7 separate regions of the Homo sapiens genome follow, and regions 2, 3, 4, 5, 6 and 7 are each linked to region 1. Evidence: promoter capture Hi-C in 16 types of primary human blood cells and fetal thymus (Javierre and others, 2016). All regions are on one chromosome and are shown on one strand. The core of a region is centred on a gene start or on the middle of the fragment in contact, and the rest is flanking DNA. Distances in the headings are between cores, read along the strand shown. Region 1 holds the start of BOLA3 (bolA family member 3). Region 2 overlaps LOC124907848 (a long non-coding RNA gene). Region 3 overlaps TPRKB (TP53RK binding protein). Region 4 overlaps LOXL3 (lysyl oxidase like 3). Region 5 has its middle 20 kb from the start of TPRKB. Region 6 overlaps DUSP11 (dual specificity phosphatase 11). Region 7 has its middle 2.0 kb from the start of PCGF1.

What was found. The method cuts DNA at HindIII sites, captures the fragments that hold promoters and counts their contacts. A CHiCAGO score of 5 or more calls a contact.
Region 2: a contact is called between a fragment that was not itself captured here and the fragment with the promoter of BOLA3 in region 1, in 3 of 17 cell types (M2 macrophages, M1 macrophages and erythroblasts). The highest score is 6.4, in M2 macrophages.
Region 3: a contact is called between a fragment that was not itself captured here and the fragment with the promoter of BOLA3 in region 1, in 6 of 17 cell types (erythroblasts, naive CD8 T cells, activated CD4 T cells and 3 more). The highest score is 8.2, in erythroblasts.
Region 4: a contact is called between a fragment that was not itself captured here and the fragment with the promoter of BOLA3 in region 1, in 1 of 17 cell types (naive CD8 T cells). The highest score is 5.2, in naive CD8 T cells.
Region 5: a contact is called between a fragment that was not itself captured here and the fragment with the promoter of BOLA3 in region 1, in 14 of 17 cell types (M2 macrophages, activated CD4 T cells, M1 macrophages and 11 more). The highest score is 10.2, in M2 macrophages.
Region 6: a contact is called between a fragment that was not itself captured here and the fragment with the promoter of BOLA3 in region 1, in 17 of 17 cell types (naive CD8 T cells, erythroblasts, M2 macrophages and 14 more). The highest score is 18.1, in naive CD8 T cells.
Region 7: a contact is called between a fragment that was not itself captured here and the fragment with the promoter of BOLA3 in region 1, in 1 of 17 cell types (total CD8 T cells). The highest score is 5.3, in total CD8 T cells.

What each region holds. Positions count from the first base shown.
Region 1 is chr2:74,146,294-74,149,932 of GRCh38, forward strand. BOLA3 (bolA family member 3) reads right to left here and starts at 1,619. Exons shown (of 4, transcript NM_212552.3): 1 at 1,528-1,619. The coding sequence starts at 1,581. It overlaps BOLA3-DT (BOLA3 divergent transcript), which reads left to right and starts at 1,688. Exons shown (of 3, transcript NR_045636.1): 1 at 1,688-1,930; 2 at 2,057-2,185; 3 at 2,405-3,639. RefSeq lists a silencer at 1,360-1,839 and an enhancer at 1,373-2,032. The HindIII fragment of the contact is 11,442 bases long and covers 1-3,639 here.
Region 2 is chr2:73,712,655-73,716,293 of GRCh38, forward strand. The region is part of intron 1 of LOC124907848 (a long non-coding RNA gene); the gene reads right to left. Among named protein-coding and RNA genes, the nearest start is that of TPRKB, 23 kb to the right of the region's middle. The HindIII fragment of the contact is 3,865 bases long and covers 1-3,593 here.
Region 3 is chr2:73,731,520-73,735,158 of GRCh38, forward strand. TPRKB (TP53RK binding protein) reads right to left here. Exons shown (of 5, transcript NM_016058.5): 2 at 2,910-3,072; 3 at 644-766. The coding sequence starts at 3,050. Among named protein-coding and RNA genes, the nearest start is that of TPRKB, 4.0 kb to the right of the region's middle. The HindIII fragment of the contact is 4,504 bases long and covers 1-3,639 here.
Region 4 is chr2:74,541,065-74,544,703 of GRCh38, forward strand. The region is part of intron 4 of LOXL3 (lysyl oxidase like 3); the gene reads right to left. Among named protein-coding and RNA genes, the nearest start is that of LOXL3, 11 kb to the right of the region's middle. The HindIII fragment of the contact is 5,114 bases long and covers 1-3,639 here.
Region 5 is chr2:73,755,939-73,759,577 of GRCh38, forward strand. No RefSeq gene overlaps it. Among named protein-coding and RNA genes, the nearest start is that of TPRKB, 20 kb to the left of the region's middle. The HindIII fragment of the contact is 3,192 bases long and covers 268-3,459 here.
Region 6 is chr2:73,772,258-73,775,896 of GRCh38, forward strand. DUSP11 (dual specificity phosphatase 11) reads right to left here. Exons shown (of 9, transcript NM_003584.3): 3 at 2,656-2,787; 4 at 1,543-1,666. Among named protein-coding and RNA genes, the nearest start is that of DUSP11, 6.0 kb to the right of the region's middle. The HindIII fragment of the contact is 1,793 bases long and covers 769-2,561 here.
Region 7 is chr2:74,507,912-74,511,550 of GRCh38, forward strand. No RefSeq gene overlaps it. Among named protein-coding and RNA genes, the nearest start is that of PCGF1, 2.0 kb to the left of the region's middle. RefSeq lists an enhancer at 534-593. The HindIII fragment of the contact is 467 bases long and covers 1,730-2,196 here.

The DNA of each region.
Region 1 (3,639 bases), core at 369-2,868:
GGGGAGCCCATGTTTCTGATGGAACACGTCTCAACAGTTAGTAGTGAAGGAGCAGAAAAGCAGGTCGGCAGTCACTTGGCTGGGCTGAGTGCATGCTGAAAAGGCAGACTGGGAATGGAGTGTGGCAGGCCTTGAATGCCAGGCTAAAGATTGTGGACTGTATGGGACAGGAGATGGGACTCCAGGTGATAGAACCCAGGCTCATGGGACCAAAGTAACCTGCAGGAAACAGTGCCTTCTGGAGCGAGTCAGGAGAGATGCCCAAGTAAGAGGCATTACAATGATGGAAGCACCGGGCACTGGTCCCTGACTAGACGTGGATGACAGGTTGGAGGACACTAGGGCCGTTCATGGGTGCTGGTGCTGAAGGTCCCACCCCTCTACCCCTCAGTCCTTCCTGATAGCTCAGAGCAGGGTCCTGTGTCACAGAATCTCAGAGCACCTCCTTTAAAATGAGCTGTGCACTGGCTCTCTCACCACTGGTCTTATAGGCCAGGAATGAGTCCGGCAGCATCCCAGAGCTGACCCCAGGGCAGGCCCTCAGAGGCACTTGGTGCTGGATGAATGAATGAGCAGGGGAAGAACTAGTCAATTAGGGACAGAAATGCAAGACAGGAGAAAGGTCCAGAGTGTGATTGTCTGCCTGCTGTGTGGAGGGACAGAAACTCGATGTTGAGAGGCTGGACAGGATTGCCAGGAGTGAGGGTGGGGTGGAGCTGCTTCTGGGGGCAGAATCTTGAGGGTAAAGGCAGAGAGTAACCAGATGGCAGACAGAATCGGCAGCTACTAAGGGGTGAGAGAGGTGAGCGTTGCAGAATCCTTGGGAGAAGCCTTTCATCTTAGCGGATCTGTGGGCAGCGGCCTTTAGTGGAACAATCAACTGACATCCCCAGATGATCACTGTCCACGCTGAAAGTCACCGCAGTGGAAGAACTTCTCTTCATGCACAGGGCAGGCAGGTTCAGAACCAGGGGAGAAGGAAAATGAAAGTTAAGAGAAAGAATGGTATGAGCTGAAGCAAAGGATGGTTCAGAAAGGGGGAGAGATTAGGAGAGCGCGTGGGAAGTGCCCCCTGCTTGGGTTCTGCTCCGGTAGTGTGGGATTTGGAGGAGGATCAAGGTCAGAGGCCCAGTCGACCTTCCCAAGGCCCCGGCCCCGCTGCAGTCCCTCGCACCCACGCCTTGACTCTGGGCTATGACTCCTGTCTTCTGCTCGGTAAACCAATCCTTTTTTTTTCCTGTGCCCGCAGTATTATGACTGTTCATGTGTCTGTCCGCCTGACCTCCAACCTCCACCCAGCTCGGGAGCTCCCCTAGAGCGCGCCAGAGCTTGAAATTTCGAATGCCGTTGTCGCTGAGTGAATGAATGAATGAAAGAATGAATGAGAGAAAGGAAGAGGAGCCCCCCATTGCCAGTGCCGCGCGCGCCCTCCGGGAGCCAGTCCTCAAGCCCCGACAGCCGCCGGCCCCGCGGTCCCTCCGCAGCTCCCGTCCCGGGGAGAGCAGCCCCGACCCTGCCCACGCTCACCCCGCGGATCCCGCGGAGGAGAGGCGCTGCCGCGGCCGGGCTCCATGCAGCCATGCCCGGCCGACGTGACCCGCCGCCCGAGGTCACTGTATGCCCGAAAGACGCGGAGCGGGGGACCGAGAGCCGCCGCCGTGGGAGAGGCCGCCCCCTGCCGCCCGGAGGCCGTCAGCCTCCCGGCCCCGCCCCGGAGGCCTCCGGTCGCCTGGCTCCGGCCCCACCCCGCCATCCCCTGGCCCTGGCTGACTCGCCACCCCCGACACTGCAGCGCCTGCCGACCTCGGGGCCCCGCCCTCTGCCTTCGCTCGCGCCGCTCTCCTTCAGTCTCCCCAGGGCCTGTTTCATGGATAGGGTCCCCTTGCCCGCGTGAAAGTCTCATTCCTCCTCAGCTCAGAAACACTCCAAGGTCTCGGCGCCCTATACTGGCCTTCCCTCATCCGAATACCCCTCGTGCTCCTGATGTACTTTTCCATTCCCACTCCCTACTCTGGCAGTCTAGCTTCTAAGCTGAGGAGTTTGGCCTTCGCTCCAGGTGCGGGGACTCGTGGAAGGATTTGATTCGCGCTTGAGAAAGATCGCTCCGCTCCTGTAAGGAAGAGAGCGTGTAGGGGCTGCAACCAGAGACACAGTCAGAAGCTCCGAGGCTACCGCGATGGTCCAGGTGAGAATGGAGGGGCCTAACTAAACCAGTGGCGGGAGGGATGGAAGAATGAACTGAGACACTTGGGAGGTGAATGGAATCGAGCGACTGCATGTGGAGGTGTGAGTGGGAAGGTATCTGAGATGACTCCAGTTTCTGGCTTGGACAATGACTTGGATGGAGGGTTAGGTGGGGGCTGAGCAGAGTCCACGAACAGTTCTTAATTTGCCTGAGTTTAAGGTGCCACAGGACACAGCCTAACAGAGGCCCAGGTTGGAGCCATGGACCATGGAGTCATGAGAATGGAAGGGAAGCTGACGCCATGTGGGATGGGGTAGAACTGTCCGCAAATTCGTCCCGCCTCTGGAGTCTTCAGACCAGTCAAGGCCGAAATTCAACCAAGCCTCTCCTCTCTCTAGCTGTTATTTGTTTGCAGCACGCGGTCTGGTGGCACCCTGCAGGATTTACCAGCTTTTTGCCAACATTCTGGCCTATGCAATCAATACGTCCCTTCAGCGTTGCACTTGGATGGATTGGACCTATAGTTGTTATATATGGATATTGTCTAATTTATTTATTACAGTATTAACTGACTCCTATGTTCTGGCCTTCAGAATTTCTCCTTTGGATCAATTACTAGCCTGTCTTACATTTTCTGCTTCATTCTTTTAAAATGTTTAGAGATGATTTGCTAAGTTTTCTTCATTGCTGTCAATGATGCAATTTAAACTGTCAAAAAAATTTTTTCTCAAGCAGGGTAGTAATGGTGAACCATTCCCTTGCTATTCAGACAGCATGGTTTAGATGAGGCGCACCTATCCCCAGCTTTAGGAATGGAAACAGGACCCAAGTCTGGCTAATCAGAGACTGGTTTAGGGTCGGCCCCATGGTCTGAGCCAGACCAATGAGAATTGGTAGAGGGACTTCCTTTTGCAACTTCTATTTTAGAATCGGGGGTATATATGCAGGCTTGTTACAGAGGTATATTGCATGGTGCTGAGGTTTGGAGTATGAACGAATCCGTCCTTCAGGTAATGAGCATAGTACCCAATAGGTAGTTTCAACCCTTGCCCCCTTCCTCCTTCCCCAGTCTTGTATTCCCCAGTGTCTGTTGTTCCCAGACATTGATCTTTTTCCTCTATGTTGCTAAGCTGGTAGAAAGGCTGGAGTTGCTGGCAACCATCTTTGCAACCATGCAGGGAGAACTACTTTGGAAATGAAGCAAGATAAAGAAGAAAACAGATAAAAGGAGACAAATGTTTGACTTTGTACAGCTGGAAACCAGCAATGCTGGAAATGAGCACTGAAGGCAGTTTAATGGGTTTGTCACTTGTAACCAAGTGACCCATGGCAAGCTCACAGATTTGTATTGGCAGAATTCCTCCTTTTCTTTATTTAAAATGGTACTTTTGGCCAGGCAAGGTGGTTCACACCTGTAATCCAAAGACTTTGGGAGGCCGAGGCGCACTGATCAC
Region 2 (3,639 bases), core at 411-2,910, 430 kb before region 1:
AATGTGCAGACACACACACTTTTGATGGAATACTGAAATGGGAGATCCTTGCTGGAGAATCATTACACAGCATGTCAAAATCCTTTTTTTAAATCAAAATAGAGTCTCACCCCATTGCTCAGGCCAGAGTGCAGTGGCAAGGTCATAACTCACTGTAACCTCAAACTTACAGGTTCAAGTGATCCTCTGCCCTTGTCCTCCCAAGCAGCTGGGACTACAGGCACCCACCACCACAACTGGCTAATTAAAAAAAAGGTTTTTTTTAGAGACGGGGTCTTGCTATATTGACCAGGCTGGTCCCTAATCCTTGGGCTTAAGCAGTCTTCCCACACACTGAGATTACAGGAGTGAGCCACCCTGCTCGACCTCAAAATCCTTTGAAAAGACTTGATCCAAATTCAACTTCTAGGGTTAGAGCTCAAGAAAGTAACTGGTCAAATGTGCAAAGATGTTTGTATAAGGATGTTTATCACTGTAAAGTTTATTGACACAGAAGCAACCTAAAGTGCAACAAGAGGGGACTGGCTGAATAAATCCTGCTCTATTTCTGTAGCACAGTACCTCACAGCCATGACCAATGCTGATGAGGGTTTACTGACATGAAAAACATTGCCCAACTATAGCAACAAGCAAGAAAAGATTATAAAACAATATGTTTGGATTTATTTTTGGAAAAATGGTATTGAAAAATGATATCCACAAACAAGCATGCAGAGAGAAAAGTCTGAGTGGTTCCACCAAATGTTGGTAGCAGTTACCTCTGAAAAGAGGAATTGTGGGGGATTCTCTGCATAAAAGATAAACTCTGAAGGTCTTTGCACATTCTAGGCACTTGGCCCTGCTTTCAGACAGTGAAACTGAATCTTGGAAGTCTAAAGGGACTCAGGGACTCAAGTGTGATTGTGAGCTCCTAAAGGTAAGACCCGCGTCCGGTTTTATTATTTCAATTAATCCAATTAATGTGCACAATTCAGTGGCATTTAGTACATTCACAATGTTGTGCAACGACCACCCCTTTCTGGTTCCGAATCATTTTTATCACTGCAAAAGGAAATTCCTTGTTTATTAAGTGGTTCCCCCTTATTTCCCTCTCTCCCCAATCCCTGGCAACCTAATCTGCTTTCTGTCTCTATGGATTTATTTATCGTGGATGTTTCATATAAATGGAATTGTACAATATCTGACCTTTTATGTGTGGCTTCTTTCAGTTAATGTTTTCAGAATTCATTCGTGTTGCATCATGCATCAGTATTTCATTCCTTTTTAGGGCTCAAAATTCCATGTATGTTTATACCGCACTTTGTTTATCCATTCATTCATTGATGGACATTAAGGTTGTTTCTATCTTTTGGTTATTGTGAATGATGCTGCTGTGAACATTCACATACAAGCAGTTATTTGAATACCTATTATCAATTCTTTCAATGTATACCTAGGAGCGAAATTACTGGTTCATATTTTAATCCTGTTTTTGTTTTTTATTTTTGTTTTTTTTGTTTTTTTTTTTTTTGGTGGAGATGGGGATCTCACTATGTTACCCAGGCTGGTATCAAACTCCTGGGCTCAAGTGATCCTCCAGCCTGGGTCTCCAGAAGTCCTGAGATTACACGTCTGAAAGATGCTGTGCCCAGCCAGTAATATGTTTTAGAATCAGGAAGTGTGAGTCCTCCAACATTGTTGTAGTGTGAGTCCTCCAACATTGTTGTTCTCTTTCAAAATTGTTTTGGCTATCCAGGATATCTTATGATTTTTACAGATTTATTGCCATTTCCAATCTTTTTTTATTACTATGTAATATATGTTTCTTTTTTTCTTTTCTTTTTTTTTTTTTTTTTTTGGAGACTGAGTCTCGCTCTGTCACCCAGGCTGGAGTGCAGTGGCACGATCTTGACTCACTGCAACCTCCACCTCCCAGGTTCAAGCGATTCTCTTGCCTCAGCCTCCTGAGCAGCTGGGATTACAGGTGCCCGCCACCATGCCTGGCTAATTTTTGTATTTTTAGTAGAGATGGGGTTTCACCATGTTGGTCAGGCTGGTCTCGAACTCCTGACCTCATGATCTGCCTGCCTCAGCCTCCCAAAGTGCTGGGATTACAGGTGTGAGCCACCGCGCCCAGCCATAATGTATGCTTCTTTGAGCTGTTTTTCTGATAACTTAGTAGCCATGTAATCTAATTAACTGATATGCTTCAACCACTTTCTCAATCTATCACTCTCAGACACGAAACAGTATCTATTGACTCTATCATATGAAAAATTAACATCCCCATCAGAGTTGTTCCAAGCCCCACGAATACAGCCAGGATTTTTTTGTCTTATCATCTTGCAAGAGCTCAGGTCCTATCCAACTACAACAATTACAGATACATGGCAGCATGTTCACATTGTCTCAGGCTTCCCCCAACTACATCTGAACAGTTTGAATTGGATTAAAAAGGGCTCCTGGAGACTTGTAGGCTTGCTTATCCTGTGGGTAACTGACATTGGTTGCAGTAATGATACCAAGGTTTCTTTTCTTTTTCCAGGTAGGAAAACATGTGATTTGCTCTATTTCATCGTCTACCAGTAGTTTCTTGTGCTCAAAGTCTGCACTTTGCAACAAGCACAAATTAAATAAGAGCATACATGCAAAACAATTACTTAAATTCAAACTTTTCCATTGAAATACAAATGGCTCTTAAATATGTAAGATACGCAACCTCTCTCAAATGAAGATTAAAACTGTATCCAACTGCCTTTTTTCACCAGATTATCAAAAATTCAAATTTGATGGCAAGAGTGTAGGGAAATAGAGTCCCTTATATATTCTTGTGGGAGTAGAAGTTGGTTCATTGTGAAAGGTAATTTAACAGTTCCTATCTAAATTACTTTCGCCCAGAATTTTATTTTTATTTTTGAAACAGGGTCTCACTCTGTCACCAAGGCTGGAGTGCAGTGGCATGATCTTAGCTCACTGCAGCCTCCGTCTCCCAGGCTCAAGTGATCCTCCCACCTCAGCCTCCTGAGTAGCTGGGAGTACAGGCATGTGCCACCACCCGGCTAATTTTTGTATTTTTTGGTAGAGACGAGGTTTCACCATATTGCACAGGCTAGTCTCGAACTCCTGAGCTCAAGTGATCTGCCTGCCTCGGCCTCCCAAAGTGCTGGGATTACAGGTGTGAGCCACTGCACCCAGCTCACCCAGCATTTTTACTTTTGGAATTTATGATATACTGTGCACATGTGGAATTTAAGCTATAGATACTTGCATATGTGCAAAATAGTGTACAAAATTAACGACTGAAGCAGTTTGTTATAGCAGAAAATTAAAACAGTTTATCTGTCCATCAGTAGACAAACTGTTAAATAAATTACTGTATATCCAGATAATGAAGTCCTACATAGAATGAGGAAGGTCTGTCTATACCAGTATGGAAAGATCTCCAAGACACATAATTTAAAAAAAAATCAAAAGTGCAGAGCAGTGTGTATCATACTACAACTTGCGTTTTTTTAACAAATAAAGGAGGGAAGAGAATTGCTTGAATGTAAAACAATTCTCTGAAATCCTGTAGGGTTGTGAACAGAGTGAATGGAGAACAGGAGTGGAAGGGAAGCTTTTCCAATGATGCCTTTCTACACACTTTAAATTTTATCAAAC
Region 3 (3,639 bases), core at 583-3,082, 410 kb before region 1:
AACCTATGCTACAGGTTTCCTGTAGATGACATTAGTACCTGGTTGTTATTAACAGCAGCAGTAATACTAAAACTTCATCAGCAAAATTGCAGTCATTTTTTTCATGTGCTACATGTGTGATGTCTTTAGCTTGATAACTTTCATTGAAAAAGCATTACTATAAGTATTTCAAACCACAAACTCTACCTATGTACTGGGTGTGTGAGTGAGGCTGTGTTAAGGACTGTTATAGGTACAAGCAAGTTCCTGGTATATGAAAAAGACATGGATCCCACCCTCAAGGAGTTTACGGGAAGAGAGAATGATATGCAGGCTAGCACACAAAATATCCACGCCTAATGTTTTATCATTTAGATTTCTGTCAGCTTCTCAAGCAAAAATACTTGAGGGGTCTTCCTGACCCTATATGGTAAGAACAGATAAAATTAACCTCGCTTAATTTAGCTAAATTTTTGTTTACTCATATGTAAACTGTCTTAGTAAGAGGCAGGGTTAAACCTCAACTCTCTGTCCAGAGCTCTCTTCACTATTATTTGGGTTTATTACTAACCACTGGCTTGCAGGAATTTAGCCTCCAACCCAACACTGAGGAACACATATGTTATTATGACACGGTCAACAGAAATAGGAAAGTGCACATTACATTGTTATTTGGGGAAAGGTTGAAAATAATTTCAGTAGATAGAGTTCTTGTCTTCATTTTTCCCAGTTTGTAGAGGTGAACTGCTTTGTTTGCTGCCACAAGTATCTGAAATGGATCAACAATCTACCAAAGCAAGGAAAAAGAATTAATTACACATGGAGAATCTGCAGTGCCTGAAAACACATGGTAACTCATGGTTAACTCCAGTGTCAAGCTGTTTTACTTCATCACAATTCTTACGGTCTGTATTTTCAAAACTATTATCCCGGCTGGGCACGGTGGCTCACACCTGTAATCCTAGCACTTTGGGAGGCCAAGGTGGGTAGATCACCTGACGTCAGGGTTCAAGACCAGCCTGGCCAACACGGCGAAACCCTCTCTACTAAAAATACAAAAATTAGTCAGGCGTGGTGGCACGCACCTGTAATCCCAGCAACTCAGGAGGCTGAGGCAGGACAATTGCTTGAACCCGGGAGGCAGAGGTTGCCGTGAGCCAAGATCGCGCCATTGCACTCCAGCCTGGGCAACAAGAGTGAAACTGTCTCAAAAAAAAAAAAAACAAAAAACAACTATTATCCCAAGGGCCTGGGTAGTCAGGAAATCACAGAATTTTAAAGCTGCAAGGAACTTATGCAAATAGTAAAATTTTTTTAAATAACATTAATTGAGGGCTAATATTATGGGCATGATCATATTGCAAACATTTTACTTGTAATATTTTCTTTAATCCTCAAAACTACCCTATGAAATTGACACTATTATTAGTAGTAGTAGCAGTAGTAGTAGTATGTAATTGATGAGGAAATTGAGGCAAAGAATGTCTGGGTTTGAATCCCATCTCTGTCACCTATCACCTAGGAAACTTATGCAAGTTCATTAGCATTTTATTTGTTAGAGACCGATGAAACAGTATTCACTCCATAGGCTGTTGTGAAGATTAAGCAAGTTAGTATACGTAAAGCACTTGGAACAATGCTAGGAATGCAGTAAGCACTATATAAAGGTTGGTTATGTCTTGTTCAAAGGCCTAAGTAGTAGGTCTGGGATTAATTCCCGGTAACATGATCGCACTGCGTGTGCCCTGTTTTTTTGTTTTTTTTTTTTTTTGGAGACAGACAGAGTCTCTCGCTCCATTGCCCAGGCTGGAATGCAGTGGCTCAATCTCAATTCACTGTAACCTCCGCCTCCCAGGTTCAAATGATTCTTGTGCCTCAGCCTCCCGAGTAGCTGGGACTACCAGCACACACCACCACACCCAGCTACTTTTTGTATTTTTAGTAGAGACACGGTTTCACTATGTAGGCCAGGCTGGTCTCAAACTCCGGGCCTCAAGCAATCCACCCACCTTGGCCTCTGTGTGTACTCTTAACCACTACACTATTCCTCCTCTACAGACTGTCTTGTTAGGAACCCCCATTTTAAAGATGAGAAGCTGGAGATCCAGGCATTTCCCATATTAGACCCAGACCACAACCTTTCCTATTTCCTAGGGCAGGACCTGGCACTTCTGCCTCTATTCACTGTTATAGTCAAAGTTGGCTGCATCTGACTTGGACAAGAATTTTTTCCCTAACCGTGACAGATTTTTAGGCTACCCTATAACATCACAAATATTAATGTATACTTAAATGCCCTGTATGGCTCATTCATTCTTTTTTTTTTTTTTTTTTTTTGAGGCGGATTCTTGGTCTGTTGCCCAGGCTGGAGTGCAGTGGCACAATCTCGGCTCACTGCAACCTCTGCCTCCCAGGCTCAAGCGATTCTCCTGCCTCAGTCTCCTGAGTACAGGTGCCCACCACCATGCTCAGCTAATTTTTGTATTTTTAGTAGAGACAGGGTTTCACCATATTGGCCAGGCTGGTCTCAAACTCCTGACCTCATGATCTGCCTGCCTCGGCCTCCCAAAGGGCTGGGATTACAGGCGTGAGCTACCATGCCTGGCCATTTTTTTTTTCCAGACAGAGTTTTGCTCGTCGCCCAGGCTGGAGTGCAATGGCGCAATCTTGGCTCACTGCAACCTCTGCCTCCAGGGTTCAAATGATTTTCCTGCCTCAGCCTCCCGAGTAGCTGGGATTATAGGCGCCCGCCACCACGCCCAGCTAATTTTTGTATTTTTAGTTGAGACAGGGTTTCACCATGTTGGCCAGGCTGGTCTTCAACTCCTGACCTCAGATGATCCACCCGCCTCGGCCTCCTAAAGTGCTGGCATTACAGGCGTGAGCCACCGCACCCAGCAGGCTCATTCATTCTTAAAATTTATATTTACCACTGTAGGATTTATCAGTGATCCATCGATGGTGCCTTCCATGGCCTTTCTTCTCAAGTCTCCCGCATTTTTTACATCTTTAAATAACAGAAGGGTTACCCTGCATTCGGGAAATAGGTCCAGCTGATGTGTTAACTGCATTTCACAGATAAGCAGGATTCTACTGCACACAAAATGAAAAGACCAAAAGATTTCATTTAAAAGTTAACATCAGAACTCATTTCTTAATAAATATTCAAAAACTTTGAAAGTAACTTGATAAAAGTGTTAAACTAGAAAAATCCATCGCCAAAGCCCATTTGGCATCCTCATGAGATGTTGTCTTCCTAACCCTTCTGAGTTGTTCTGTTGTCATCCCCAGGGAAACGCCAAGGGGCCCAGCTGGTTGCTGTTTGTTCAGATGAGGCAGGCTCAGGTGCATGGTTGAAGGGCTGCTTCCCCAGCAGACAAGTAGGAGCAGAATGTCAGGAATTTTTTAAACCAGAGGTTGCTTACGGTATTAATGAAGTCTTACTCTATCTTAGTCTTTTTAACTTCCTGATCTCATCATTTTATTTATATTTTAGGAAGGCCTAGACATAAATATTAAGGAAGAAAATAATTTTAAAGAATAAAGTAGGCTGGGTGCAGTGGCTCATGCCTGTAATCTCAGCACTCTGGGAGGCCGAGGCGAGCAGATCACCTGAGGTTGGGAGTTCGAGACCAGCCTGACCAACATGGAGAAACCCCG
Region 4 (3,639 bases), core at 398-2,897, 390 kb after region 1:
TCTGTAGATTCAACCTCCATCTGTACTGAACACGTACCAACTTTTTTTCTTGTCATTATTCCCTAAGCAATAAAATATAACAACTACTTATGTAGCATTTACATTATGTTAGGTATTATAAGTAATCTAGAGATGATTTAAAGCATACAGAGGATGTGCATAGGTTATATGCAAATACTATAGCATTTTATATCAGGGACTTGAGCATCTTTGAATTGTGGTATCCTTGGGAGATCCTAGAACCAATCCCCCATGGTTACTGAGGGATGACTGTTTAATGTGTGAAGACACCTTGGGATTTAAATATACGTATATATTTTAAACCAGTCAGAAGCTGTTTGATATTTTCTGCCTCAGCTTCTTCCTGAGGATGTACTTAGTTGGTCTCTTTGCCAAAGTGTCCAAAGTGTTGGACATTCCTGGCAAAGAATATACAACTCTCAGGTCCCTTTACTGAGACATTGCTAATAGTTAGACTCTTTCATCTTATAAATATGGTGTGAAATTTTTTCTCCAAATGTCTTTTTCTCAAACATGTCTAAAATGTCTAAAATGAAATACACTTGGCCTCTTCACCAATCAACCTGGAGAGTTCACCTTGATCTCCAGAGTAGTACTAAAACATTTTGGTATTATCTAGAAATTTAGAAGTACCTCTTCTCTAAATTATTTAAGGACCTTATATCAACAGGTCTTTGTATTATTTATATATATATATACACAAACATATGTAATCTTATTTCATATTTATATAAAAGAGTTTAGACCCTTTTATCTTATAAATATTTTATATATAAAATTATATATAAGTTATGTTAAGGACTTTGTCCTCATTGAGGACCAGTGCTGTTATTTGTCTTGATTTAAATTTCTTCATTCACAGATGTGTTTGTTTCCACCTACCATTTGTTCCTTCCTTCAGCCATCAAACATAAAAACCTATGTAGGCCAGGGGCAGCGGCTTACGCCTGTAATCCCAGCACTTTGGGAGGCTGAGGCAGGAGGACTGCTTGAGCCCAGAAGTTTGAGACCAGCCTGGGCAACACAGTGAGACCTCGTCTCTACAAAAAATTTAAAAATTAGCCGGGTGTGGTGGCTCGAGCCTGTAGTTCCAGCTACTCAGGAGGCTGAGATGGGATGATCGCTTGAGCCCAAGAGGTCGAGGTTGCAGTGAGCCATGATGGCGCCACTGCACTCTGGCCTGGTCAACATAGAGAGACCCTGTCTCAAAAACAAGGAATCAAACAAACAAACAAACAAACAAAGAAAAAACCCAAAACAAAAACCTGTCTACATTTGCATATCCTCTTCTCATACCTTTCAACTATTTTTCTTCTCTAAGTCTACTGTACCTAAATGTTTCTAAATTCCATCTCTTACAATTTTTCTCAGTCCTGCATACCATTTCTTTTTCTCAACTGAATCCTTTTAAACATTCAAATCACTCCTACACATGCACACACACACACACACACACACCCTCTACTTATCTCTCCTCCCCTTCACAGTAACATTTCTCAAGAGCTGTCCATACTTATCATCTTTATATCCTCTCTTCCTACTTTTTTTTTTTTTTTTTGAGACAGAGTCTCGATCTGTCACTCAGGCTGGAGTGCAGTGGTGCAATCTTGGCTCACTGCAACCTCCGCCTCCTGGGCTCAGCAATTCTCCTGCCTCAGCCTCCCAGGTAGCTGGGATTACAGGCACGCACCACCACAGCCAGCTAATTTTTGTATTTTTAGTAGAGACGGAGTTTCATCATGTTGGCCAGGCTGGTCTCAAACTCCTGATCTCAGGTGATTCACCTGCCTTGGCCTCCCAAAGTGCTGGGATTACAGGTGTGAGCCACCATGCCCAGCCTCCTCTTACTCATTTTTCAACCCACTTCCTCTGGTTTTCCCTACCTATCACTCTGCAAACTTCTATTTTGTTAAATCCAGCAGACATTTTTCAGTCTTCATCTTAATGACCTCTCTGCAACATCTGACTGTCCTCTCTTTCCTTGGCTGCTATAACACTACAATATCCTGGTTTTATTCCTAATTCTGCTTATTATTATTATTAATTTCCAGAGTGGCTCCCCAGGGAGCAGGGCTGACTCCTAGGCAGTGTGCCTAGAGCCGCCTACTCCTAATTCTGGTTGCTCTTTCTTGGTCTTCTCTGCAGGCTCCTCCCCTATCTGGTCATTAAAATTTGTGGAGCTCTTTCTTAGGCATTTTGTTCTCACTTCATATAGGGCCCTCTATATGGTCTAATTCACACCTAGTGTATTCATAATCTTGTCTATTTCATTGCCTTCTTGATGTTTCTAGGTAGAGATCTGAAAGTAATCTGAAATGTAATGTAGGTCCAAAAAAAAAAGATAATTATCTCAGTAAAATCCACTCCAGAAACCTAGGGGTCAATCCTGACTTCTCCCTTTCTTGGATCCCAAAGTCAATCAATAACCAAGTCCTGTCAATTTTACTTCTAAATATCTCTCCAATCCATATCTTTTGCTCCTCTCCTGATTATTCTCAGAAATAGAGTCAAAGGCGGGGCGTGGTGGCTCATAGCTGTAATCCCAGCACTTTGGGAGGCCAGGACAGGCAGATCACTTGATCTGATCCTGAGGTCAGGAGATCAAGACCAGCCTGGGCAACATGGAGAAACCCCATCTTTACTAAAAATACCCAAAAATCAGCAAATTAGCTGGGCATGGTGGCGCGTGCCCGTAATCCCAGCTACTCGAGAGGCTGAGGTAGGAGAATTGCTTGAACCCAGGAGGCGGAGGTTGCAGTGAACCAAGATTGCACCAGTACACTCCAGCCTGGGTGACAAAGCAAGGCTCTGTCTCAAAAAAAAAAAAAAAAAAAAAAAGAAAAGAAAAGAAAAAAAAGAAATAGATTCAAATGATCTTTTGGAGTCACAAACCTGATCATGCCATCTCATAGCCCTCCCCATTAAAACACTTCAATGGCCGGGCACGGTGGCTCAAGCCTGTAAGCCCAGCACTTTGGGAGGCCGAGGTAGGCGGATCACCTGAGGTCAGGAGTTCAAGACCAGCCTGGCGAGCATGGTGAAACCTCGTCTCTACTAAAAATACAAAAATTAGCTGGGCGTGGTGGGCACCTGTAGACCTAGCCACTCAGGAGGCTGAAGCAGAAGAATCACTTGAACCCAGGGAGGTGGAGGTTGCAGTGAGCAGAGATTGTGCCACTGCACTCCAGCCTGGGCAACAAGCCAGACTCCCTCTCAAAAAAACAAACAAACAAAACAAACAAACAAACAATCCAAACATCAAAGGCTTCCCAATCCTTTTATCATAAGGACCTGAATCCTTATGATGGCCTATAAGGTCTTCTATGATCTGCAGCCTAATAACCTCTCTTGTCATTTATTCACCTTTGTATTCTCAGCACCTTGCACAGTACTTGGCAAATAGGAGTTCAATAAACATCTGTCAAGCTGAAATGAACTAGAAGAGTGACTTCTTAAATAGCACTGAAGCTCTTAGAGCCTCAATTTCATTACCTGTAAAAGAGTAGTAAATAGTTCAATTATCTGTACATTCTTTTCTTATTCTAAAGTTCTACAACTTTTACATGTTCTAGGGTAGAACTACCAAAACAAATTGAAAAATGATTAATACATCAGGTT
Region 5 (3,639 bases), core at 614-3,113, 390 kb before region 1:
TGGTGGGTGCCTGTAATCCCAGCTGCTCAGGAGGTTGAGGCTGGAGAATCCAGGAGGCAAAGGTTGCAGTGAGCTGAGATCGTGTCACTGCACTCCAGCCTAAGTGACAAGAACAAAACTCCATGTCAAAAAAAATAAATAAGTAAATAAAATAAAGTCAAAGAAAAGTTAAAGACTGCCTCTTTGCTGGGCCTTCCAGATTTAAGAAAGCCCTCTAATTTAGTTGTGCACAAAAAACAAGCCATGGGCTTGGGTGTCCTAACTCAAAGCTTGGGAACTGACTGAAGACTGATTGCCTATTTCTCTGAACAGTTTGACCAGGTGGTGAGGGTTGGTCCCCCTGCCTCCGAGCAGTGGCTGCAACTTGCAACCTCTTCTAGGAGGCTGAAAAGCTAACTCTAGCTCAGCTCATCACTGTCCACACACTGCATCACATCTCCTGTCTCTTAGATCAAAAAGGTGGATACTGGCTGACCTCTGAGAGGTTGGGAAAATACCAAGCCATCCACCCTCCTTGACAATCCAGAGGTGAAGTTAAAGGTGTTCTCGGTTCTTAACTCTGCTACCTTAATACCTCCAGAGAAGGAGCCAGGGCCCATACAAAATTGCCTTCCAATTAATGAGCAGGTCTTTCCAAGGCAACCAGACCTGGCAGATCAGCCCCTGCTGTGCTCCAAACTAGGACTGTTCACAGATGCAAGCAGCTTCATGGACCATGGACATCATCATGCTGAATTTGAGGTCATTACCTTACAAGGAATTAAGGAAGCCAAAGCCTTATTGCTAGGCACCTCAGCTCAGTGGGCCAAGGTGCCCTTATGCATGCCCTCCAATTGGGTAAGAAAAAAAATTATGAATATTTACATAGACTCCCAATATGATTTCTTGGTGGCACATGCCCACAGAGCTATGTAGAGAGAGGTCTTTTGACTAGCAAAAATAAAGAAATCAAATATACTTCTGATATTTTGGCCTTATTAGAATCTGTAAAAGGCCAGGCATGGTGGCTCATGCCTATAATCCCAGCACTTTGGGAGGCTGAGGCGGGTGAATCACCTAAGGTCAGGAGTTCAAGACCAGCCTGGCCAACATGGTGAAACCTCGTCTCTACTAAAAAATATAAAAATTAGCCAGGCACGGTGACACATGCCTGTAGTCCCAGCTACTTGGGAGGCTGAGGCAGGAGAATCACTTGAACCCGGGAGGCAGAAGTTGCAGTGAGCCGAGATTGTGCCACTGCACCCTAGCCTGAGCAACAGAGTGAGACTCTATCTAAAAAAAAAAAAAAAAAAAAAAAAAAAAAAAAAAAAATCAGTAAATGCCCCCTCTAATAGTGGCTATCATCCACTGTCCCAGCCATCAAAAAGGAGACTCCCGAATAGTCAAAGGAAATTAGCTTGCCGACCTGGCAGCCAAGCAAGCCACAAAAACATTGGACTCTGAGGCTTTCTTAGCCCCACTAATACCTCACAATGATCTGACCAAGTTCCAACCTTGCTATACCAAAGGAGATTTAAAGTGAGCCAAGGAATGGGGATTCACATCCCAGCCCTGGCCCATCCAGGCTGGAAATGTAATCTGGAAGGTATCGTATTGGTTCCCAGTGCCCTCCTTAAAGATATAGTGAGCTAGTTTCATCAAAGCATCCATTACAGAAAAGATGCAACCCTTCAATGGCATGTGAGTTCTTGATTGACCCCGACATGCAATGGGGTCATTCAAAATGTGATCTATCAATGCATGCTTTGTGCCCAAACTGCCCTAAAACTGACCCCACCCCTGTTCAAGGGTACAACATTGAGGAGACTCTCCATGCAAGGACTGGCAAGTTAATTTCACCACAATGCCACGGGTGCCTGGAGGCTACAGGGCATCTTTTTGTACAAAAAACATCTTTTTGTTTTTTGTAGACACATTTACAGGATGGGTAGAGGCATACCCTATCCGAACAGAAAGGGAGCTGAAGTGGCCCACACTATACTAAAGAGATAATTCCCCAGTATGAACTCCCTTTGACGATTCAGAGTGACCATGGTGCGGTGTTCATCTCTCAGGTAGTACAGGAAGTGTCTCAAGTCCTAGACATTGAATGGAAACTTCATGCAGCACAGCCACAGCCCACCGGAAAGACTAAAAAACTGAATCAAACTATTTAAAGAACAATTAGGCCAGGTGTGGTGGCTTATACCTGTAATCCCAGCACTTTGGGAGGCCAAGGCAGGTGGATTATTTGAGCCCAGGAGTTTGAGACCAGCCTGGCCAACATGGCAAACCCCATCTCTACTAAAAATACAAAAAAATTAGCTGGACGTGGAGGCGCATGCCCTTAGTCCCAGCTGCTTGGGAGGCTGAGGCACACGAATTGCTTGAAGCCGGGAGGTAGAGATTGCAGTGAGCCGTGATCATGCCACTCCACTCCAGCCTGGGCGACAGAGTGAGACTGTCTCAAAAACAAAAAAAACAAAAAAACAAAAAAAAAAAACTGCTGCTAAAGTGTGCCAGGAAACTAATCTAACTTGGGACAAAGTACTACCTTCTCTCCTGCTGAGGATTTGGGTCATTCCCTGAAACAGGCTCTAGTTGAGCCCTTTAGAAATTATGTATGAGAGACCCTTCCTAGCCACATTGGGGCTAGATCAGGCTATAAAATCTTAGAAAGGGAAGGAGCTATTAGACATTATTTAAAATTGCTAAATGAAATACCGACTTCTGTTCATGAGTTTGCTTCTTCCCCATGGACAGGCCACCTCACCCTTTCTAGGCTAGAGACCAAGTTCTACTTAAAACCTGGAGGGAGACTGGACTGAATCACCAACTAGCCCCTCAAAGGGTAAGACCCTATGAGGTCCTTCTGACCACGCATTCATCAATTGGGCAGGAGTTAAACCGTGGGTACATTATACCTGGATAAAAATTGCCCCCGCCTCAGCCCGACCTATCAGGTTAATAGACCTGAAAGGACATGTGAACCAACTAAAAACCTGAAGCTGCTTTTGAAGAAAACATCCACAGATAAGTAAAGCCTTCTTGCTAAGCACCACAGTACTATATGGCTTACGGTGTCTGCTGAAACCAATCTTTTCCTACAATGGGCACATTATGCAGATAGCCTACAGAAGCTCGTAGGGTTTGAGGGCTGTTACCTATCTCTAGCATGTTGGTATTACCTTGGTCGGTCTTGCTCTTACAAGGAAACAACTGAGTACAGTAACAAACTTTTATGAAAAACTATTCCAAAGAAAATCAGGTCTCTGGTGTGCTAACACGAGGAAATGTAAGGCTATGGCCTGGCATTAATATAACCCTTCACAACCCAGGTCACAGAAAATCTTTTACTATATATCAGACTGTTCAACGAACTTTTGAATACACTGCTCCTCCTCTCCTGAAGGAATTTCCCTTGGCAGCCCCCCAAATTTTGGCTATTAATAGCCACTATACTGAGGAAGGTTTTTATCAAGCTTGGGATGATTATCTTTGAATGACTGTGTTCCCCTACCCTTATCCTGCCACCGGCCACATAAATCAAATTGCCCCTTTATGTTGGGAACAACAACAAAAAAAAAAACAGCATTCTTATGATAACTGGCCAAATATCACTAAGAATATGGGCTGGATGCTCCCCCCACCAGTGTGAAC
Region 6 (3,639 bases), core at 415-2,914, 370 kb before region 1:
CTGAATCAATTTATTTTCTCAGTCCCTACTAGTTCTAGAAGCGAGTGGAGAGTGTAGTGTCCTCTTTTTATCAGTGAGCCTGTTATCTGTGGGAAGGGATTATAGCAGAGGTAGCCAAAACTGATTATAAACAAGGTCCCAAGCCTGCTATGGCAGTGAGTACTGCAAGACTTAGACAGTCAGCACCACTCAGGCAGAAGACCAACATGGAGTTCAGTCTATCCAACTGACTACAATCAGTATAACGTGAACAACTAAGATTTAAAAATGTGTTCTCATGTATTCATAAGGACCTCCTAGCCCTCACAGAACAGATGAAGTGCTATATAAAAATTTCACAGAAAAGAGCCTGGAAGCAGTGAATAGGCCATCAGCTGTACCCTCATATCTTAAAAGGTAGTATTTCTGTGACAACAGCTTATACAAATGGGAAAGCCAAACCTCTCAAGTTTTAAAGTTAAAGTACAGGGGAAGATCTGTGAACAAGGTTTAACATAATTAAAAGCTAGTGTCCACATTAAGTGAGCGACTAGGTTACAATTTGAAATTTTATCTTCAAACCCACTGATCCAGTCTCTATCTCTCACCTTCCATTCCCTATCTTCCCACCTCTGTCTCTATTCTTTCTCCACTACTCCATCACATTTTTTAAAAAGGAGTATTTACTGTCAGATTTATGTAACAAAGTGTACACTCCTCAAGCTAAATTTGGAAAGAAGGCAAATGAAGCCTCTGTCCTGTGGGTGTCAGTGGCTTTCCAAAGATAAAAGCTTCTTCAGTCTTAAAATATGACAAATATCATGTTCTTTCTGGCAGAGAGATGCCAGAAAAAGGCAACTGGATCCTTAAGATAAAGAAGCTGTTAAGTTCTATTTTCAAAAGAGTAAGGTAAATCTTAAAGCAGGAACAAGAAAGCACCAGCCTTTGGCTTAAGTTCTCCCATGTGAAGAATAAGAGGTGGTGGTATCCTTCCCCATCTGTACTCAAAGCGGAAAAACAGCAGAAATATCTTTTTTTTAATTATACTTTAAGTTTTAGGGTACATGTGCACAACGTGCAGGTTTGTTACATATGTATACATGTGTCTTAAATACATATGACAAAGGGGCAATTCCACTGGTGCACTCTTTCTTGTTTTGCTTCTAGGGGTCCGTCCCATTCTTAATCTTTGCCCTTTCTTGTCTCTTTCACATAACTCTAAGACTCAGAGTTTTTTAATCTTTTCTTCTACTTCTCACTTCTTAACCAATATAGAAGACAAAAATAACATTTTAATTTTATATATTTCTCATTCAAATTAAAAAAGAAAGATGAGCCAGTTCAGTTCATATTTTGCACTAAAACTAATTTAACATTCCAAAGTTAAATTATTTGTGATCAACAAAAGGAAAAACATCTTACCCTATTAGCACCATCTGACATTTTCATCACCTTAGCATCATTAAATACAACAGGTCTGAGGTTGGAACTATAAAAAAATACCAAAAATCCCCAACCCCATTCATAATGCACACCACAGTTCAGGTAAGAACAAAAACTCACCATTATCTTTATTTTCTTTCAAAAACCCATTAACAGCGTGTTTGAATTTAAAAATAGTCTCATCATCAGGCACTTGATGTCCAACTGTAAAAATTTTTAAGTAAGGAACAGTTTCTGGCAAATCCTATAAAGCAAAACCATAAAAGATGTGTATTATTTCACTTGTAGAGAAATAATTAAAGAGTAATTAGGGGACCCAGAATATAAGCCAAGAGATTATAACAAACTTAATATGCCAATATCAGTATACACAATTCTGATAAAAGAGCCATTTTTTCCAACACTGCTTCAACCAGGAAGTATCACTTGATTTTCAATAAAACTACATAATAGATAGTCACTAGGTATACAAAACTGAAAGCAAATTCCATGTGAATGAATGCATATTTAACTATAAATTATATAAACAGTTCCATTTAATATTTTATAATTCAAGGGCCAGTGCCTTCATAAAGCAGCTATGATTTAAGTAGAAGAGTAGAGAATAGAGTCAGAAGAACTTGGATTTGAATTGTGAGATAGAGGGAATTCCAGGCACTATTGAGAACCGATATTCTTGGGGTGGGAGAAAAGTAGATACAGATAAAAGACAGAAGAGGCTAAGTCAAAATCATTTTAACCATCCACAAGTGTATAGTTCAGTGGCATTACATTCACAGTATTGTGTAACCATCACCACTGTCTATACCCAAAACTTTTTCATCATCCCCGACAAAAAGACTCTGACCACTAAACCATAATTCCCTTTTCTCCCCACCTCATAGATCCTTTAGTCTGCTTTCTGTCTCTGTGAATTTGTCTATTCTAGGTACTTCATACAAGTGGAATCATATATTTGTCCTTCTGTGTCTGGTTTATTTCACTAAGCATGTTTTTAAGGTTCATCCATATTGTAGCACGTATTAAATCTATTCTTTTTTATGGCTGAATAATATTCCATTTAAGACAGCAATTAAAAACATGTAATTAGAGAAATCACTTGGTTCTCTTTTAAACTTACTACCCATCAAAGAAGGCCAAGCTTCACATTAGCACAAGATGATTACTGAATTACTATAAATTATTTTAGGATCAGAAGGAAGAAAGTTCTTTTCATTGAAGGGTTCCACTTACCTCTGGTTTATAATAGCGTTGAGTATATGTTAAATCAATAATCAGTCCAAGTTCTTCATTTTGTTCTCGGATTTTGTTAAAAAGATCCAAAGGGGAAAAGCATTCTTCTGGAGCAAGTTTCTTTTCAAAACTCTGTCACAGAGAATGAAATAAGAGCAAATATGTGCTTAAAATCCTGTACTACATTAGGCATTTATTCAAGTCCTGTGATGCTAACATACAACGAGATTCAAAGGAAAGTTTCCATTCTCCTGGAACATAGAAGGTATATTACAACAATCCTTTCTTCCAGAGTGGTCAGAAAGAAAAAAATAAGCCCACTTCTATATATGTATTTCTGTATTTGTTTCATGTTGGTCTCCTAATCAGACTGTAATCTCCCAGATTTTATTCACCACTGTATCTCCAGCTCCAGGTGGAGTGCTTATCATATTTAGTGCTTATAAATATTTCTTTTCTTTTTTTTTTTTTTTTTTTGAAACAGGGTGTTGCTCTGTCATCCGTCATCCAGGCTGGAGTGCAGTGACACAAACATGGCTCACTGCAGCCTCCACCTCCTGGGCTCAAGCAATACTCCCACCTCAACCTCACAAGTAGCTGGGACTACAGGCATGAACCACCACACCTGGCCTTTTTTTTTTTTTTTTAAAGAGATAGGGTCAGCTGGGCGCAGTGGTTCACACCTGTAATCCCAGCACTTTGGGAGGCCAAGGCGGGAGGATCACAAGGTCAGGAGATCGAGACCATCCTGGCTAACACTGTGAAACCCCGTCTCTACTAAAAATACAAAAAATTAGCCAGGGGTGGTGGCAGGCGCCTGTAGTCCCAGCTACCGGGAGGCTGAGGCAGGAGAATGGCGTGAACCCGGGAGGCAGAGCTTGCAGTGAGCCGAGATCACACCACTGCACTCCAGCCTGGGTGACAGAGTGACTCCATCTCAAAAAAAAAATTTAAAAAAAAAAAAAAAAAAAAAAAAGAGATAGG
Region 7 (3,639 bases), core at 713-3,212, 360 kb after region 1:
TCATAATAGGCCCTACGCGACCTCAAGACTAACTTTCGGAGCCTGCGAAAGACTGCCCCCTCCTACCCCCAAAGGCCTGGCAGTCTGTGCCCGCTACCCGCTCAGGGTCGTCGGTCTTCTGTGACGACGACCCTGCTGAAGAAGCCCCTCCTGGGTCCTCTCCTCGTAATGCCGCCCTGTCGGCGTCCGCGTAGCGGAGCTTCGTCCAGATGGCGGGTCTTCTCCCGGCTTCACGGAGGGAGTTTCTTGGGCTTTGCAGAGTCTCGGAGAGGGTGCCGGGGGATGGGGAGTGAGAGACCCCCAGGGACTTGGTAGTGATCTTATTCCCCCATTCTCCCCCCTGCTGCCGGGGATGGGGGGGGCAGGCCCTGGTTAATGATGATGATTTAATCATCGGCGCCTGCGGAGGCCTGGGACAGACTAATGCAGAGCAGATGCCGAAGGAGGAGGGGAGGACGACTAGGACACTGCCACACACAGACAGGCTTAGGCAGCGAGCGCCTGTAGTAGCATAGGCCCAGTCCCGCACTTGGGGACTACGCGGGGTGCTCGCTCGAGAGCTCTACACCGCCGGCTCTGGGTACTTAAAAAGGGATAAATTTGCTATGAGGTATTAACATCAAATGCAACTGGAGATACGAGAAGGGAGAGATTCCAATGGAGACCTCAAAAAAGGCTTTCTGGAGAAAGTGGGACTTTGGGCACAATTTAGACTTGGGGGAGGGGGTGGAAGTGTGGTGAAATAGAAAGGACGTGGAGGGGAATGACCAGAGGACAGGAAGGTCAAGATGTAGATTTGAGAGTGGTAATAGAAAAAGCAGGGCCATAAAGAGTTGCGATTTTTAGCCTGAGGGCAATTGGGAGCTAGCGGACTTTTTTGAAGGGAGGTTATCCTGTGAAAGCGACATTTTTGTTCATTTCTCTTCAGAGTGAATTGAAGTGAATATGCAGCAAGAAGTTATGAGATTAGTGATTAATCAATTATTCGTTACAGCCCCTGTTTACCTACTTCCCTGGTCCGAGCCACTATCATCTGTCCTCTGTAGTGGCCTCTTGACTGTTTTCCTTGAGTCCCCCTTCGCCTGTTCTCAACATCACAGTTGAGTGCTGTTTCTCAGAGCTAGTGATTCTGATAAAACATGAAACACAAAGGACAAAGGACAATTTTTGAGATGTGGATATGTTTATTATTTTTATGGTGATGATGGTATCATGGGTATATACATATGTCAAAACTTATCAAATTGTACACTTCAAATATTTGCAGTTTATATGTCCATTATACTTCAAGAAAGCTATTAAAAATAAAGTTGAAAAATTAGGTTGTTCCTTTTTTACGTTTAAAACCTGTTGAGAGCTTCCCTTTTCAATCAGAATGAAAGTCAAAGTCTCAGAGTGGTGTGCAAGGGCCTGCATAGTCTCTTCAGATACACCAGGATATCCTTCCACTGTGTCCCCAACTTGAAATGCTTAGGTATCCAAAATGGCTCCCTCCTTCTTTCAGGTCTTTACTCATGAGGCTGCTGTAATCACTCTAGATGAATAACAACTCACCCACCCTTTCACTTCCTTGCTCTTTTTTTTCTGGTTAGCACTTATTAGCATTCTATCATTTATTATTATTTAATATACATTTCTAATATATATTATATTTTCTAGTTATTTTCAGAAAATATTTTCTAGAAAACATATTTCCTAGTTTTTCATCTGCCTTTTCCACTAGACTATAAGCTTCTCAGTGGCAAGGATTTTTTTTCCTCTGTTGTGTTCACAGATATAGCTCCAGTGCCAGGTGCATAGTTGGTGTTCAATAAAACTTTTCTGGATGAATACATGAATGAATCCAAGTGGTGGTGATGACAGCCTCGATTAGGGTTTTAGCAATGGCAATGGAAAGGAAGGGCTGTATCTGAAACAGTTCAAAGGAAAGTATAATAGGAGGAAGTAGCCAGGAACCTGGCTTGGTAGGCCTGGGTAAGAGGGTGAATGAAGAGCTTTGGAGGGAAGCATGTCCTCCAGCCTGCTGGACTTAAGGTGGCTGCAGGGAAGCAGGGGGAGCTTGTCAGAAGGCTAGGAGAGTGAGCGGTGGGGCTGGAGTGTCAGAACAAGGGATGGAGGTCTCAGAGTTATCTGGCTGGATATGAGAGTTGGGACTTTTGGAATGGGTGAAACTTGAGCAGATGAAGAGATAAAGAAAGCTTAAGGCCTGGTGCAGTGGCTAATGCCTGTAATTCCAGCACTTTGGGAGGCTGAGGCAGGTGGATACTTGAGCCCAGGAGTTGGAGACCAGCCTGGGCAACATGGTGGGACTCCGTCACTACAAAAAGTACAAAAATTAGCCTGGCATGGTGGCGCATACCTGTAGTCCCAGCTACTTGGGAGGCTGAGTTAGGAAGATTGCTCGAGCCTGGGAGGTTGAGGCAGCAGTGAACCGTGATAATGCTACTGCACTCCAGCCTGAGCGACAGAGTGAGATCCCATGTCTTAAAAAAAAAAAAAAAAGAAAAGAAAAAAGAAAGCTTAAGTCTGAGCTCTGAAGAATCCTCACAGTCTTCAGTGGAAGAAGGAAAATCAGTGGAGGAAAAACATAAGCAGTGACTACGAAAGTCCAAAGATGTGGAATAAGATATTACAGAAGCAAAAAGAAGGGACACTTCAAAAAATAATTGATGACCAACAAAGTAAAACATGCCAGGGAAGTCCTGGAGGAGGGATACTGAACACTGGAGCTCTCTGAGAAAGGGTTACTATAATGAAGGCAGCTTGCACTGAGTTAAAACAAGAATAAATCATGATGAAATGGAGGCAGTAGGCATGAAGTAAAAAGGAAAGGAAAAGCATGATCTCTCTTGAAGACTCAGGCAAAGATTTTGTCCAGATGATAAAGATCTGAGACAGCTGAGGGGTAGGAAAGACTAAGTTGATGAGAGCCACGGACACACAGGACATGGTGAGACAGATCCAAAGCAGTGTGTATGAGGGGGCACTCATTCCAGCACCTCTATCTTCGTCTTTTTTTTTTTTTTTTTTTTTTGAGATGGAGTCTCGCTTTGTCACCCAGGCTAGAGTGCAGTGGCGCGATCTCGGCTCACTGCCAGCTCCGCCTCCCGGGTTCACGCCATTCTCCTGCCTCAGCATCCCGAGTAGCTGGGACTACGGGTGCCCGCCACCAAGCCCGGCTAATTTTTTGTAGTTTTAGTAGACACGGGGTTTCACCGTGTCAGCCAGGATGGTCTCAATCTGCTGACCTCGTGATCCACCCACCTAGGCCTCCCAAAGTGCTAGGATTACAGGCATGAGCCACCGCGCCTAGCCAATCTTGAATATAAACCAGCAGGAACCATCCTTTCCCCGTGAATCAGAGACAAGGAGGCAAGAAAGGACATTTCAAGCCAGGTTGGGGTGGTGGTGCACACCTGTAACTCTAGATACTCAGGGGGTCAAAGTGGGAGGATTGTCTGAGCCCAGGAGTTTGAGGCCAGCCAGCCAGCCTGGGCATCATAGCGAGACTCTGTCTCTTAAAAAAAGAGAAAGTCCTAGGACTGTGGTCTGGGTGACGTAACTGGATGCCATCTGTTCTTGAAGTGGGGCACTAAAATATTTTAAAAACTCTCCAGAACACTTGTATGAACTACTGAG